Linked DNA regions of Homo sapiens: regions 1 and 3 are each linked to region 2. The links are contacts of gene promoters, found by promoter capture Hi-C in human tissues and cell types (Jung and others, 2019). All regions are on one chromosome and are shown on one strand. Each heading gives the region's core, a stretch centred on a gene start or on the middle of the fragment in contact. The rest is flanking DNA. Distances are from core to core; before and after follow the strand shown.

The links. The method cuts DNA at HindIII sites, captures the fragments that hold promoters and counts their contacts. A contact is called where the count stands out against the background at its distance.
Region 1: a contact is called between a fragment that was not itself captured here and the fragment with the promoter of CHST14 in region 2, in 2 of the 25 tissues and cell types used here (lymphoblastoid cells and mesenchymal stem cells).
Region 3: a contact is called between a fragment that was not itself captured here and the fragment with the promoter of CHST14 in region 2, in 2 of the 25 tissues and cell types used here (aorta and hippocampus).

What each region holds. Positions count from the first base shown.
Region 1 is chr15:40,648,709-40,653,029 of GRCh38, reverse strand. KNL1 (kinetochore scaffold 1) reads right to left here. Exons shown (of 26, transcript NM_144508.5): 18 at 2,652-2,729; 19 at 2,447-2,486; 20 at 1,458-1,559; 21 at 925-1,025. Among named protein-coding and RNA genes, the nearest start is that of RAD51-AS1, 44 kb to the left of the region's middle. The HindIII fragment of the contact is 4,275 bases long and covers 82-4,321 here.
Region 2 is chr15:40,469,308-40,473,970 of GRCh38, reverse strand. It overlaps CHST14 (carbohydrate sulfotransferase 14), which reads right to left and starts at 2,987. Exons shown (of 1, transcript NM_130468.4): 1 at 813-2,987. The coding sequence starts at 2,757. The coding sequence ends at 1,627. RefSeq lists enhancers at 1,220-2,123, 3,406-3,515 and silencers at 2,576-2,825, 2,876-3,115. The HindIII fragment of the contact is 30,667 bases long and covers 1-4,663 here.
Region 3 is chr15:40,702,912-40,707,493 of GRCh38, reverse strand. RAD51 (RAD51 recombinase) reads right to left here. Exons shown (of 10, transcript NM_002875.5): 4 at 1,200-1,317. Among named protein-coding and RNA genes, the nearest start is that of RAD51, 10 kb to the right of the region's middle. The HindIII fragment of the contact is 4,221 bases long and covers 1-3,809 here.

The sequences.
Region 1 (4,321 bases), core at 970-3,469, 180 kb before region 2:
GAGGCCCAGAGATTGTGAAGATCCTACGTTCCAATACGGCCATGTTTGCCCATGGTTGGCCATGTTGACGCTGACTGGTTAAAGAGAAAATACCTAAAAGACACTGACAACTAGTAAACTCCAACAAAACAGCTGGGCCTCTGTCCAGTTACCATATAGTGATTTCCACCCTATATAGTGATTTTATCCTTTTAGATGATAAACCCACCTATACACACAGAACTTCCAATTAACTTGTTAGGGCCTCATTCTTTTTTTTTTTTTTTTTTGAGACAGTTTTGCTCTGTTGCCCAGGCTGGAGTGCAGTGGCACGATCTTGGCTCACTGCAACCTCCACCTCCTGGGTTCGAATGATTCTCCTGTCTCAGCCTCCCGAGTAACTAGGATTACAGGTGCATGCCCAGCTCATTTTTTGTAGTTTTAGTAGAGATGGGGTCTCACCATGTGGGCCAGGCCGGTTTCGAACTCCTGACCTCAGATGATCCGCCCACCTCAGCCTCCCAAAGTGTTGGGAGTACAGGCGTGAGCTGCAGGGCCTCACTCTTAAGTAAAAAAAGAAAAAAAAAAAAAAAAAGAATCTCCAGCCATTAGGGTAAATTCTCTATTCTCTATCACGAAAGATGGAGATGAAAAGAAAGAAACTCATAGTAAATAGACATGAGTAGCATGTTTATCCATTATTTGCAGAGCAAAATTTTTATTTAATGTAATTCAACAAAGGGCAACGTTCACTAATTCCATTTTTATTTTATTCTTTACAAAATAAAATAAAATTCTGCTATCAATAAAGTGACTGTTCTAAGACTTTCAGCAGTGCTCTCATCATGCCAATAGTTATCAGTATAGTAAAATAAAGATTTGAATCTTTAGTGAGTGTAGCCATTCATTTTTCTGTAAAAGAATTATCTCACTTTGGCTCCTTACCAACTGACTCTTCAAAGGTGATGGTGAGTTGTATCGTGTCATAAACAAAGGTGAATACAGCTTGATCATCACTCCACTCAACGACATCCCACTCAGACAAGCTGTAGAGAGATAAACAAGATTTTTAAAAAGCGTTTTTAAAATTAACATAAAAGAGAACTTCTGATACCACCCAAACAGTACCAACAGCAGCTGCTAATGTTTTTCCACTGGACTGGGAGAAAATATTTCAATTCATATATTGTGGATGTACAAACTTAAGCTTTTGAAATAACTAAGAACCCAATCTTGAGTTGTATATCAGAGAAACACCAAGTCTACGCAATGAAAAGTATAAAATATGGAAAAATTATAATTCCATAGTTCTTCTACTCTATTTCCAGCTTACTGTTGAGTACACTGACTCTTTTTGAAACAGCACTGTATAGGTTAAAAACAGCAACACATTAAAAATACATCAATTGCTCCAATCGGTTTAAACAACCACAAGGTACAGAATAAAACACAAACAAATGATGCCTGCATTTCCTTACCTCAACTGATCCAGTAGCTCTTCAGTTCTATTTCTTTGTTTTTGCATAAAGTCTATTTGAGCAAGGGTCTGCTCTTTTTGTACCTCCAGTTCTAAGAGATTTCTGCAAATAAAAGCAGGTATTCAGAGAGATAAGGTTTTTGTTAGAGAATTCACTCTATCAATATAAAAGGTTTATGATAAGAAGTCACATGCTACATGACTCCCCATTGAGGTAATAATGTTAGGTGTATGGCATCCATTTCTGCATTCTTAGTTTAGTTTTTTTTTTTTTTTTTATATAAGCATTAATCTAGAAGTGGGTCTACCTGGGAAAGGCATAAATCATTGTTTTTCAAATTAGGATCCATGAAGATATCCTTGGGATTCACATGTTAAGATAACTTTTAAATACTACATTTTTATTTTTGATAAAAAGCAAAAATATAAAAATATAAGCATAATGTAGATCATAAGATATACTTTAAAACTGAGACATGTCACAGTTTTTTTTTTTTTGCCTGTATTTGGTTTCGTTTAGTTGTTAGAGCTAAACAGAACATATCTTTGTTAATCATTTTGCTAGCATCAATTTAATTTCAGCCAAACACTATCACCTGTCAAATTAATGTTGTCAACTAGAATTTTAGTGGCTTTGTCATTATTTCTATTTACTTTCTTTTACACTTACAGTTGAATAAGATTCATAGGCCTAAGAAATATATACTTCATTTTATACTTGTTTATATTTACATTTATTAAACAAAAAGGATACTGGTAGTATTCAAGCTTGAGAAACACTGTTGTGGATAAATGCCCTGTAAACAATAAGTGCTTCAAAACTACTGTTGACTAAGATGGACTCTAGGTTTCCATTCAAAGTGGAGAAGCCCTGAGTCAGCCTCAATCAAGACTCATGTCCCCAAATCCTGTCAGTCTCTGGAGGCAGGAAGTCATCTAGCCTTCTGTGATTTAGCATTATATTTTCTAACACTTGGATTGAAGGCTGACCTTTGAAGCTCCTCTTCTTCAGTTTTCAGCTGTTCCAATTCTTTGGAAACAGAAAAAAAAAAAAAACAGAACAAACATATTAGAATGTTGCCACAAAAATCTGTTTTATTGAAAATTCTGACTTAATCTCACCAAAGTATATAAACAAACTCAGAACAGAAGGGCTTCCCCCACACCCATTTATCTCCTTAACTAATTCAATTACCTTTTTCTGCAGCTCTCATTTCAGAATCCCATTCTTCCACAGGATTGTTTTTCTCTTCATCCTCCAAATTCTTAGTTTCTAAAGTAGACAGTATTTGTTAGAATAATTCAGTGAAAAATAGTAAAAAAAGAAAACAAAGTAAGGAAAAAAAGAATAATTCAATCAAAAACAATTTATTAAACGACAGATTGTTTCTTTGGTAGTAGGAAGTTCAGAAGTTCTAGTCTGATGGTTTCTATTTTTTTTTTTTTTTCTGTGAAAGAGAAAGTAAGGTAGTCAACAAAGGGGTGAACTTTAGACTATGGAATTCATGTACTCATGGTCAATTCAGTGCAAAAAACATGTACTAGGCACTTACTCTGTATGAAATATAGTCCTAGGGACTCTGAAGGAGATGGAGAAAAAGAAGAGCTGATTCCTGCCTCCACAGAGCTTATAATTTAATCAGGAAGATAAACTATACAAAATAACTATAATACAAGTAGATGTGATGGGTAATATAAGAAGTACTAACAAAAGAGCCATGAGAGCTCAAGGAAAAGAGACTACTTTCTTTGGTGAAAAACAGAAAGAGAACGTAGTATGTAGTAGCAAAGACCAAAGTAGAAATGATCAGGCTAGTGGCATGTGCCTATAGTCCCAACTACTCAGGAGGCTGAGGAAGGAGGATTCCTTGAGCCCAGGAGTTTGAAGCTGCAGTGAGCTATGATCATGCCACTGCACCCCAGCCTGGGCAACAGAGTGAGACTCTGCCTCTCTTTTTTTTTTTTTAAATAAAAGAAAAAGGCAGGCGTAGTGGCTGATGCCTGTAATCCTAGCACTTTGGGAGGCTGAGATGGGCAGATCACTTGAGGCCAGGAGTTGAGACCAGCCTGGCCAAGATGGTGAAACACCATCTCTACTAAAAATACAAAAATTAGCTGGGGGTGGTGGTGCATGCCTGTAATCCCAGCTACTTGGGAGGCTGAGGCACAAGAATTGCTTGAATCCAGGAGGCAGAGGTTGCAGTGAGCAGAGATCATGCCACTGCACTCCAGCCTGGGTGACAGAGAGAGATTCTGTCTCAAAAAAGTGGCAGAACTGCATAAAAATAGCAATGTTTGGTTAGAATTTAAGAGGTGTATGGGAGTAGTAACAAATCATGTAAATCTGAAAACAACTGTAGAAGATATGAAATGTCAAGCTCAGAAGTTTGGACTTTTTTTTTTTCTTTAAGCCAACCACAGAGAAAGTTAAGTTTGGGCCAGGCGCAGTGGCTCACACCCGTAATCCCAGCACTTTGGGAGGCCGAGGCGGGCGGATCACCTGAGGTCGGGAGTTCGAGATCAGCCTGACCAACATGGAGAAACCCCGTCTCTACTAAAAATACAAAAAAAAAAAAATTAGCAGGGCCTGGTGGTGCATGCCTGTAATCCCAGCTACTCGGGAAGCTCAGGCAGGAAAATCGCTTGAATCTGGGAGGCGGAGGTTGCAGTGAGCAGAGATTGTGCCATTGACTCCAGCCTGGGTAACGACAGTGAAATACCATCTCAAAAAAAAAAAAAAAAAAGAAAGTTAAGTTTGGACTTTATAATAAATGGAAAGACAGAAGTTTTTCAGAGGAGTAACATTAATGAAAACTGTCTTTCATAATTATTAATCTGGCAGCAATGTGCAGGTTGGAATGGAAG
Region 2 (4,663 bases), core at 1,738-4,237:
CTGTATTCCTTCCACAACTTTCTCTGGACCTAAGTCAACAAGAGCCTGACCCTCACTCAACCTCCTTGCCTGCCTTCCTTGTAGTGCCAGAAAAAAATCTCCTTGCTCACACAAAAATTTTCTTTTTCATTTGAAAATGGTCCGGGGCCAGGCGTGGTAGCTCACGCCTGTAATCCTAGCACTTTGGAGGGGCCGAGGTGGGCAGATCACCTGAGGTTAGGAGTTCAAAACCAGCCTGGCCAACATGGTGAAACCCCATCTCTACTAAAAATACAAAAATTAGCCAGGTGTGGTGGTGCGTGCCTGTAATCATCCCAGCTACTTGGGAGGCTGAGGCAATCGCTAGAACCCAGGAGGTAGAGGTTGCAGTGAGCCAAGATGGTGCTACTGCACTGCAGCCTGGGTGACAGATCGAGACTTCATCTCAAAAAAAAAAAAAAAAAAAAGAAAGAAAGAAAATGCTCTGGGGGAACTTCTCATTCAACTCTTATTGAATAAGAGGAGGATCCCGTATCTCCTACCCACCTACTTTTTTAGGGAATAATACATGTAGGTATGCTCTGGACGTGAGGCCATTCCTAACTGGGCTTGCCCTTTGGTGACATCCCAGGATCTGAGTCTGTGATCTGGTATAGCCTATTAGAAAGCCCCCAAAGTCTCCATGGAATGGCAACGGCCCATTGGACCAGCCCAACCAAGTTATACCTTACTTTCTCTATCTACAGGCTGCCTCCCCTGACATGGGAAGACAGACATCGAGGAGATCTGCTGGGCCCACAGGAGCTCCAAGGGAAATCACAGAAATGCTCGCCTTATATATAAAACTGCTTTATTAAAAAGTCAGCTATTAGGAAAACAAAGCCCTTACAAGGGTTCTATCAAAAAGTACAAATTTTAAATAAATGCATCAGAAAAATGGCAGCCAGATATACCAGCCACAGTCACAACCTCAAAGGCCTTGTGGGGAAGGAAGGGAGAATTAGGGAGGAGGTTCCGAGAACTCAAGGAAGAGGCTGGGCACAGAGGGTCTTTGGGTGCCTGCAGAGCTGGGTCCTGGAGCTACCAGGCAAGAACCCTGCTTCCGTTTTCCTTTCCTTGGAAAAATGTAAAGAACTGGCAGGTGTAGGAAATTTTGAGACTGGAGCAGAAAGGCACAAAAGTCATTTATAAGGTATGATTGCTCACTCTAGTCCTGAGGCACATGGGGTGGATAAATGGGGGATCAGAGCCACAGGGTCCCTGGCTCTGGTCATGCTTGCCCCTGGCTGGTACCATCTCTGAGTTTGGCCACAGGTTAAATTAAGGTAGACCAAGTGGACTGCATAATCCTGGCAGCCCGGGGTCTGGAGCCAGTCTTTAGATCAGATGTGTTGCTTCATTGGCAAACTGGTGTCTGCCCCCCAAGAGATCCCCCCAATGAGGAGCAGCAGGTCTCCTGCCTAGCCCTGTCCTCTGAGTCACTGTGGGTGCCCACCCTGGACAAGGAACTTCTGAGGGCAGTCTCTGCCATCCAGGATCCTGAGAAGCCCCAAGCCCCAGAGCCAGAGTTTCTCCGAATGACAGGCAGAAGCACAGAAAGCTGGCGTTGAAACCAGTCCCCACCAGCTGCTGGCCCCACACCCATGGTCACTGCTGACACGCCTCCTTGGTGACATTAGGCAGTGGGTAGGCAAAGAGGGAGAAGTCCAGGATATACTTAGGCAGCACATCCTGCAGCAGGGCCCGGGGGGCACTGCACAAGTGGTAATGCAGGCTTTCGGGGCTGGCTGGCCGGTACCAGGCCTGGCGAGCTGGAAATCGGACGTGAGGTGGTGCCCGTACCCACTCCAGCACCTGATTTGCATCAGCCTCCAGCCTCTCATAGGAGCCCACAAAGTCATAGTGCACGGCACAAGGCTGGCACAGGTGGTACACGGGCATCCAATGCTCATTCATGCGCTCAGGGTCCTCATCCACCAGGTATCTCAGGAACTCGGGGAATGTGACATCGTCGCCTGCAGGGCTGGGCCCCGCTCCAGCCCTGTACCGCCTCACTATCTCAGCCCCATAGCGTTGCTGGTACTCTCGGATCTCGCCAAACTTGTTGCGGTAGGCAGAGAGGAGGCGTTCCAAGGGCTCCCGCACAAACAGGAACTTAAAGTAGTGCTGCAGGCGGTAGCGAATCTCCTCAGGCCGCAGGTCGGCCAGGAACACCAGGTCACTGCGGTGGTCCATCTTGAGGCGGACGTCCACGCTGTCCAGGACGCCTGCCAGCACCTTCATCACCCGCTTCCAGTTAGAGCAGGCCACCTTGGGGACGTAGCAGTAGAGGAAGCGGTAACGGTCACTTACGAGGATGTGGCGCAGCAGGGTGCGCCGCTGCCCCACCGGCAAGTCCCAGGGGTCCCGGGGCATGCCTGGCTGTCCGCACACCGCCCGCAGGGTCCTGTTCCGGACGTCCTGCCGCACTTGCAAGTCCGCGTCCCCAGCCCTGAGGGACAGGCCCCCAGGCTTGGGGGCTTTCCCGCGCCAGGCTGTGCCCTCGCGGCCGGGCGGGTGCAGGGGCAGGGGCTTCATCTCGGCCAGGATGCCCCGCTCGATCATGAGCAGCAGCCCGCTGGAGGCCACGATCACCGCAAACATCAGCATGGACGGCAGCAGCAGGGGCGGCCCACCCAGCCCCGCCCGGGCCCTGCCCAGAGGGGCCCGCCTCAGCGCCCGGCCCAGGGGCTCGGCGCCATTTGGGGCCGCCAGCGGGGTCAGCGGGCGGGGGAACATGGTGCTCAAGGGGTGGGGGCCTGCGCGGGCCCGGCCGATCCGAGGGCGGCCTGGAAGGCGGGCTCGGGCTGGGGGCGGGAGGAGGGTCTGGGACCGGGGGTAGTTGGGGAGGGGAGGGCAGGGGACAGCCCTGGCGCGTGTAGGGGTGGCCGGCTCCCGGGCTGCGGCGCCGAAGCGGGCGGCGGGCGGCGGGCGCGGCGAGGGACCCGGGCCGGATGTCCCGCCCGGCCGCTCTCCACCCCCGGCCTCGCAGTGACACAGGCGCGGGGGCGGGCCCACGCCGGGGGCGGGGAGAGGGGCGGGCGCCCCTGCGGGGCGCGGGCTTGGGAGGGCGCACGCGGACCCCTACCCGGAAGAGGGCGCCTGAGTCAGGGCCACCCCTGTCCTCTGGGCTTGGGGACAAAAGCTCCTGAGACCTCGAAGGCAGAAAAGACTCGAGGCTGCTCTCCTGCAGCGTGTGTCCTCAGGGAAGTGGACAAGGGGGATTCGCCACAAACTCAGGCCTGTCCTAGCCCTTCCTCCAGCAACGGGTCTGGAGGCAGGGAGGCGGGCAGCGCTCTCTCCGAGTCCAGACGTGCCGGAGGCTGGTCTTTCCAGCTGGAAGCGGAGCCCTCGGTGTGCTCCCCCTTGCCACCCTTAACTCCCTCCGTCCTGCAGGTCGTGGCCACTCCAGGAAGGAGAAGCAGAACTGTCAGACACTGACCAGTCTCCATGGTGACCCTTGTGTTTAGCAATACCTGGGGACTGACTACAGTGCTTGTCCACTGGGTAATGCTGAAATGTCTGGAAATGGAGTCTCCCCTCCTCTGCCTTCTCCTCATGAGGCAGTGGGATAACTGGGCACTCTGGGGAGGGTCTGACACATTGGTCCATCAGCTGCTGGTGTGGCCAACACACATTTGGAAGGGTGAGGAGCTGGGGGCACAAAACAGCAGGGAAACAGCACGTAGTCTCCTTGCCTGGAGCTAGATGTGTGCTCCATGGCACCAGGCTGGTCACTTGGGCGGACAGCAGACCCGAAGTGCTTTGGATGTCAGCAACCACCATTTCCCACTGGGAACCTGGCTCAGTAGCCAGACTTGGTCCAGCTATGTGCTTGCTGCCTGCAGAGAGCCAGCAAGCCTCTGAAGCAGCAGAGGAATATGATTAGAGCCCAAGTGTACTGAGGACAGCGCCCACTAAGTGTTTTATATTCATTATCTCCTTTAGTTGTTACAGCCACCCTGGCAGGGAGCTAGTGTGGACATTCCCTTTGTACAGCTGAAGTAACAGAGGCTCAGGGAAGATGTGACTCAGTATGGGTGGTTCTGAGTCTAAAACCTAAATTTCTAATCACGGCCCTTCAGAGATTAAAGGAGCATATCATGGAATGGCTAGAAGGGAGGAAGCAGCTGACTCGAGGGCGGACTGTACAGAGCAGGTGATGGAAAATAGAAGATACCAGTGGGAGAATGGAGCTACCAGTGATCAGATGAATTCAGAAGGGTGAGGGGACTTGAGGGATGAGGTGATACTAGAGGGCTCACTGATGACCCCACAATCCCAGCAACAGGAAAAGCACACAGATGAGCCAGGGGAAGGAACGGTAAAGCCTTGCAGCCTTCCAGCTCTCCAGGGCAGGCTCTCCACATCTGATTGCCCCAGTGCATCTGCAGGCTACCACCTGTCCATTTGCTGCACCAGAAGTTTGCGTGAAGGTTCTGCCTTGTCTACACTGCTCCTTGCTTCCAATAATCCTAAAGGTATACATTTCTGGTGATAGGATTTTCTATTAAAATCATATTTTCCAGTAAGTATGTCCTTTAAACCAGGAGAGGAAAAAAAGGCCTTAGACCTTTAAAAATCTTTTGATAATGTGGCCACATGTGCTCCCTTCTGTGTTACAGGGTAGTTTTCTGTGTTAGCA
Region 3 (4,582 bases), core at 450-2,949, 230 kb before region 2:
CTCTACTAAAAATACAAAAATTAGCTGGGCATGGTGGCACTTGCCTGTAGTCCCAGCTACTTGGGAGGCTGAGGCAGGAGAATCACTTGAACCCAGGAGGCGGAGGTTGCAGTGAGCTGAGATTATGCCACTGCACTCCAGCCTGGGTAACAGAGTGAGACTCTGTCTCAAAAAAAAGGGAAAGAAAACTGACATTGGGCCAGGCAAGGTGGCTCAAGCCTATAATCCCAGCACTTTGGGAGGCTGAGGCAGGAGGATGGCTTGAGCTCAGGATTTTGAGACCAGCCTGGGCAACATAATGAGTGATGCCCCGACTCAAAAAAAAAAAAAAAAAAAAAAAAAATTAGCCAGGTGGTAAATGATCATAGTCCTAGCTTGGGGAGACTGAGGCTAGAAGATCACTTGAGCCCAGGAAGCAGAGGTTGCAGTGAGCTGAGACCATGCCACTGCACTCCAGCCTGGGTGACAGAGTGAGACCCTGTCTCGAAAAATAAATAATAAGGTCAAAAGCTTTATAGTTTTCCCTGAAGTCCTGAAGATTAGTGTGTACACAATGAGTAGTATTCAAACATGGAATGTTTTAACCAGTCATCAGGTTTTCAACCCTGTGGTAGAGTAGGTTATAATTACAGTTACCTCCTTAAGCAAAAGGAGCTTACTCTCTTAACACAATATTAAATGGAGACTAAATTATTTAATTTGCAGATAAGTTTAGTATTTTATAAATAAGGTCCTACCTTGCAGCAGTCTTACCTCTTCAATGTGGATACTTCCTTTATCTCTCTTTGTTTTTGAGACAGAGTTTTGCTCGTCACCCAGGCTGGAGTGCAGTGGCACAATCTTGGCTCACAGCAACCTCCGTCTTCCGGGTTCAAGTGATTCTCCTGCCTCTGCCTCCCGAGTAGGCATGTGCACCTACAGGGATTACAGGCATGTGCCACCATGCCCAACTAATTTTGTATTTTTAATAGGTTTCTCCATGTTGGCTGGGCTGGTCTCGAACTCCCAGCCTCAGGTGATCTGCCCACCTCAGCCTCCCAAAGTGCTGAGATTACAGGCATAAGCCACTGCACCTGGCCTTCCTCTATCTCTTTATCATTATCTAACAAGGAAATGCTACACAAATATTTCAGTTTTGTTTTATAACCTGGAAGCTTTCCTAACTAGAGTTCACAACACAGGATAAAGGATTACTACACCTTGAAGTAGTTTGTCAAGCTCTTTGGAGCCAGTAGTAATCTGTATGATCTCTGACCGCCTTTGGTGGAATTCAGTTGCAGTGGTGAAACCCATTGGAACTAATTTAGCTGCCTCAGCCTGGGAAAAATAAGAAATATTAAATCAACAAAATAATATTCCTTACCACAGTGATCTTGATGGCAAAAAAATATATATAAAGAAAAAAGAAATATTAGTAAAACAAGGTGTGCAATGGGAAGAGAAAATATCAAATAAAATTACCAGGATGATTTCTCTTTAGAAAGTCATAAAAAAGGATAATCTAATTCAGAGATTCCATGAAGATCAATTTTTAAATTGCCAATTCAAGTTAATATATTAATATAGTTTTAAAAACTATTATAGATCCGGCCGGGTGCGATGGCTCACGCCTGTAATCCCAGCACTTTGGAAGGCCAAGGCAGGCGGATCACAACGTCAGGAGATCGAGACCATCCTGGCTAACATGGTGAAACCCCATCTCTACTAAAAAAATACAAAAAATTAGTCGGGCGTGGTGGCGGGTGCCTGAAGTCCCAGCTACTTGGTAGGCTGAGGCAGGAGAAAGGCGTGAACCCGGGAGGCGGAGCTTGCAGTGAGCCGAGATCGCGCCACTGTACTCCAGCCTGGGGGACAGAGCGAGACTCTGTCTCAAAAAACAAAACAAAACAAAACAAAAAACTATTAGAGATCCGTACATATGTGTTTTGCCCAATTTATGACAAAAATGACAATACAGTACACCTTCATTTCCTGCTCCATCAACCGCAGACTGTATCCCTTAACTTCCTACTTTGTAAAAATGAGGACATTTGCCCTTCAATCTTTTCTCTCTCCATGGCTACTTCCCCACCTCTATCAGCTGTACCTTTTCTTTCATATTGTCTGGCTGAGAACATTCACATTCTATTTTGTAATTACAGATAAGTGTTCTGTAATAGCACTATGGGTTGATTCTAAAATTGAAAAGTAAGTGCATTCACAAATATGCAAAAATAAAGCAACACACTCCTAAATAAGCAACAAGTCAAAGAAGAAATGACAAGGGAAATCAGAAAATGTTTTTGCAATGAATGAAAACGAAGATATACCAAAACGTATGGGCTCCAAGAAAAGCAGTGCTTAGAGAGAAATTCATAGCTATAAACAGCTATATTAGAAAAGAAGGCTGGGTGTGGTGAATCACACCTGTAATCCCAGCACTTTGGGAGGCTGAGGTGGGAGGACTGCTGGAAGCCAGGAGTTTGAGACCAGCCTGAGTAACAAAGCAGCACCCTGGCTCTAAAAATGTTTTAAAATTAGCAGGGTGGCTGGGTGTGGTGGCTCACCTCTGTAATCTCAGAACTTTGGGAGGCTGAGGTGGGCAGATCACAAGGTCAGGAGTTCAAGACCAGCCTGACCAACATGGTGAAACTTCCTCTCTACTAAAAATACAAAAATTAGCCGGGCGTGGTGGCACGCGCCTGTAGTCCCAGCTACTCGGGAGGCTGAGGTGGAAGAATCACTTGAATCTGGGAGGCGGAGGTTGCAGTGAGCTGAATTTGCACCACTGCACTCCAGCCTGAGAGACACAGCGAGATTCCATCTCAAAAAAAAAAAAAAAAATTAGTAGGGCATGGCTGGGCATGGTGGCTCATGCCTGAATCCCAGCACTTTGGTAGGGTGAGGTGGGCAGATCACGAAGTCAGGAGTTCAAGACCAGCCTGCCCAATATGGTGAAACCCCATTTCTACTAAAAATACAAAAAATAGCTGGGCGTGGTGGCGTGCGCCTGTAGTCCCAACTACTCAGGAGGCTGAAACAGGAGAACTGCTTGAACCCGGGCGGCGGAGGTTGCAGTGAGCCGAGATCACACCACCGCACTCCAGCCTGGGCAAGAGAGTGAGACTGCATCAGAAAAAAAAAAAAAAAAGGCCTGGCGCGGTGGCTCACGACTGTAATCCCAGCACTTTGGGAGGCTGAGGCAGGCAGATCATGAGGTCAGGAGATCAAGACCATCCTGGCTAACACGGTGAAACCCTGTCTCTACTAAAAATTAGCTGGGCATGGCGGCACGTGCCTGTAATCCCAGCCACTCAGGAGGCTGAGGCAGGAGAATCGCTTGAACCCAAGAGGCAGAGGTTGCAGTGAGCAGAGATCACGCCACTGCACTCCAGCCTGGGCACAGAGGGAGACTCCGTCTCAAAAATAAAATAAAATAAAATAAATAGCAGGGCATGGTGGGGCGTGCCTGTGGTCCTAGTTACCTGGGAGGCTGAGGCAGAAGGTTTGTTTGAGCCAGGAGTTGGAGGCTGCAGTGAGCTATGATCACACCACTGCACTCCAACGTAAGTGACAGAACAAGACTCTGCCTCTAAAAATAAAAAAGATAAATCATAACCTAACCTTCCAAAGAAAAGCAAACAAAACAAAGCAAGCAGAAAGATGGAAATAATACAGGTTAGGGTAGAAACTATTAAGTAGAGGGCAGAATAATAGAGAAAAATCAATGAAACCAAAAGCTGGTTCTTTGAAAATATCAACAAAATTGACAAACTTTTAGCTGCATTGCCCGAGAAAAAAAGAGAAAAGACTCAAATTACTAAAATCAAGAATGAAAGAGGGGACATTACTACTGACTTTATGTAAATAAAAAGTAGTATAAGGAAACCCTGTGAGCATCTCTATGTCAACAAGTTAGGTAACTTAGATGAAATAAGCAAATTCTTAGAAAGATAAACTACCAAAACTCACTCAAGAAGAAAATCTAAATAGACCCATAGAAAGTAAAAAGATTAAACTTTCATAATGTTTAAATTTCCCATGAAGAAAAAAAATCAACAAATAGCTGAAAAATCAATGAAAGTTTATTCTCTAAACTTTTCTATATACTTAATATTTCATTTAAAAATTCATTGCACGGCCAGGTGCAGTGGCTCACGCCTGTAATCCCAGCACTTTGGGATACTGAGATGGGCGGATTACCTGAGGCCAGGATTTTGAGACCAGCCTGGCCAATTCATATACTCACTGTCATTTCAGTGCAACAAACATGTACTAGACACTTACTTCGTATGAAACATAGTCCCAGGGACTCTGAAGGATATGGAGAAAAAGAAGAGCTGATTCCTGCCTCCACAGAGCTTATAACTTAATCAGAAAGATAAACTATACAAAATAACTATAGTACAAGTAGATGTGATGGGTAATATGAGAAGTACTAACAAGCCATGGGAGCTCAAGGAATATAGACTACTTCCTTTGGTGAAAAACAGGAGAATGTATTAGCAAAGACAAAACTGGTAGAAATGGTCAGGCTAGTGGCATGTGCCTATAGTCCCAGCTACTCAGCAGGCTGAGAATTCCTTGAGCCCAGGAGTTTGAA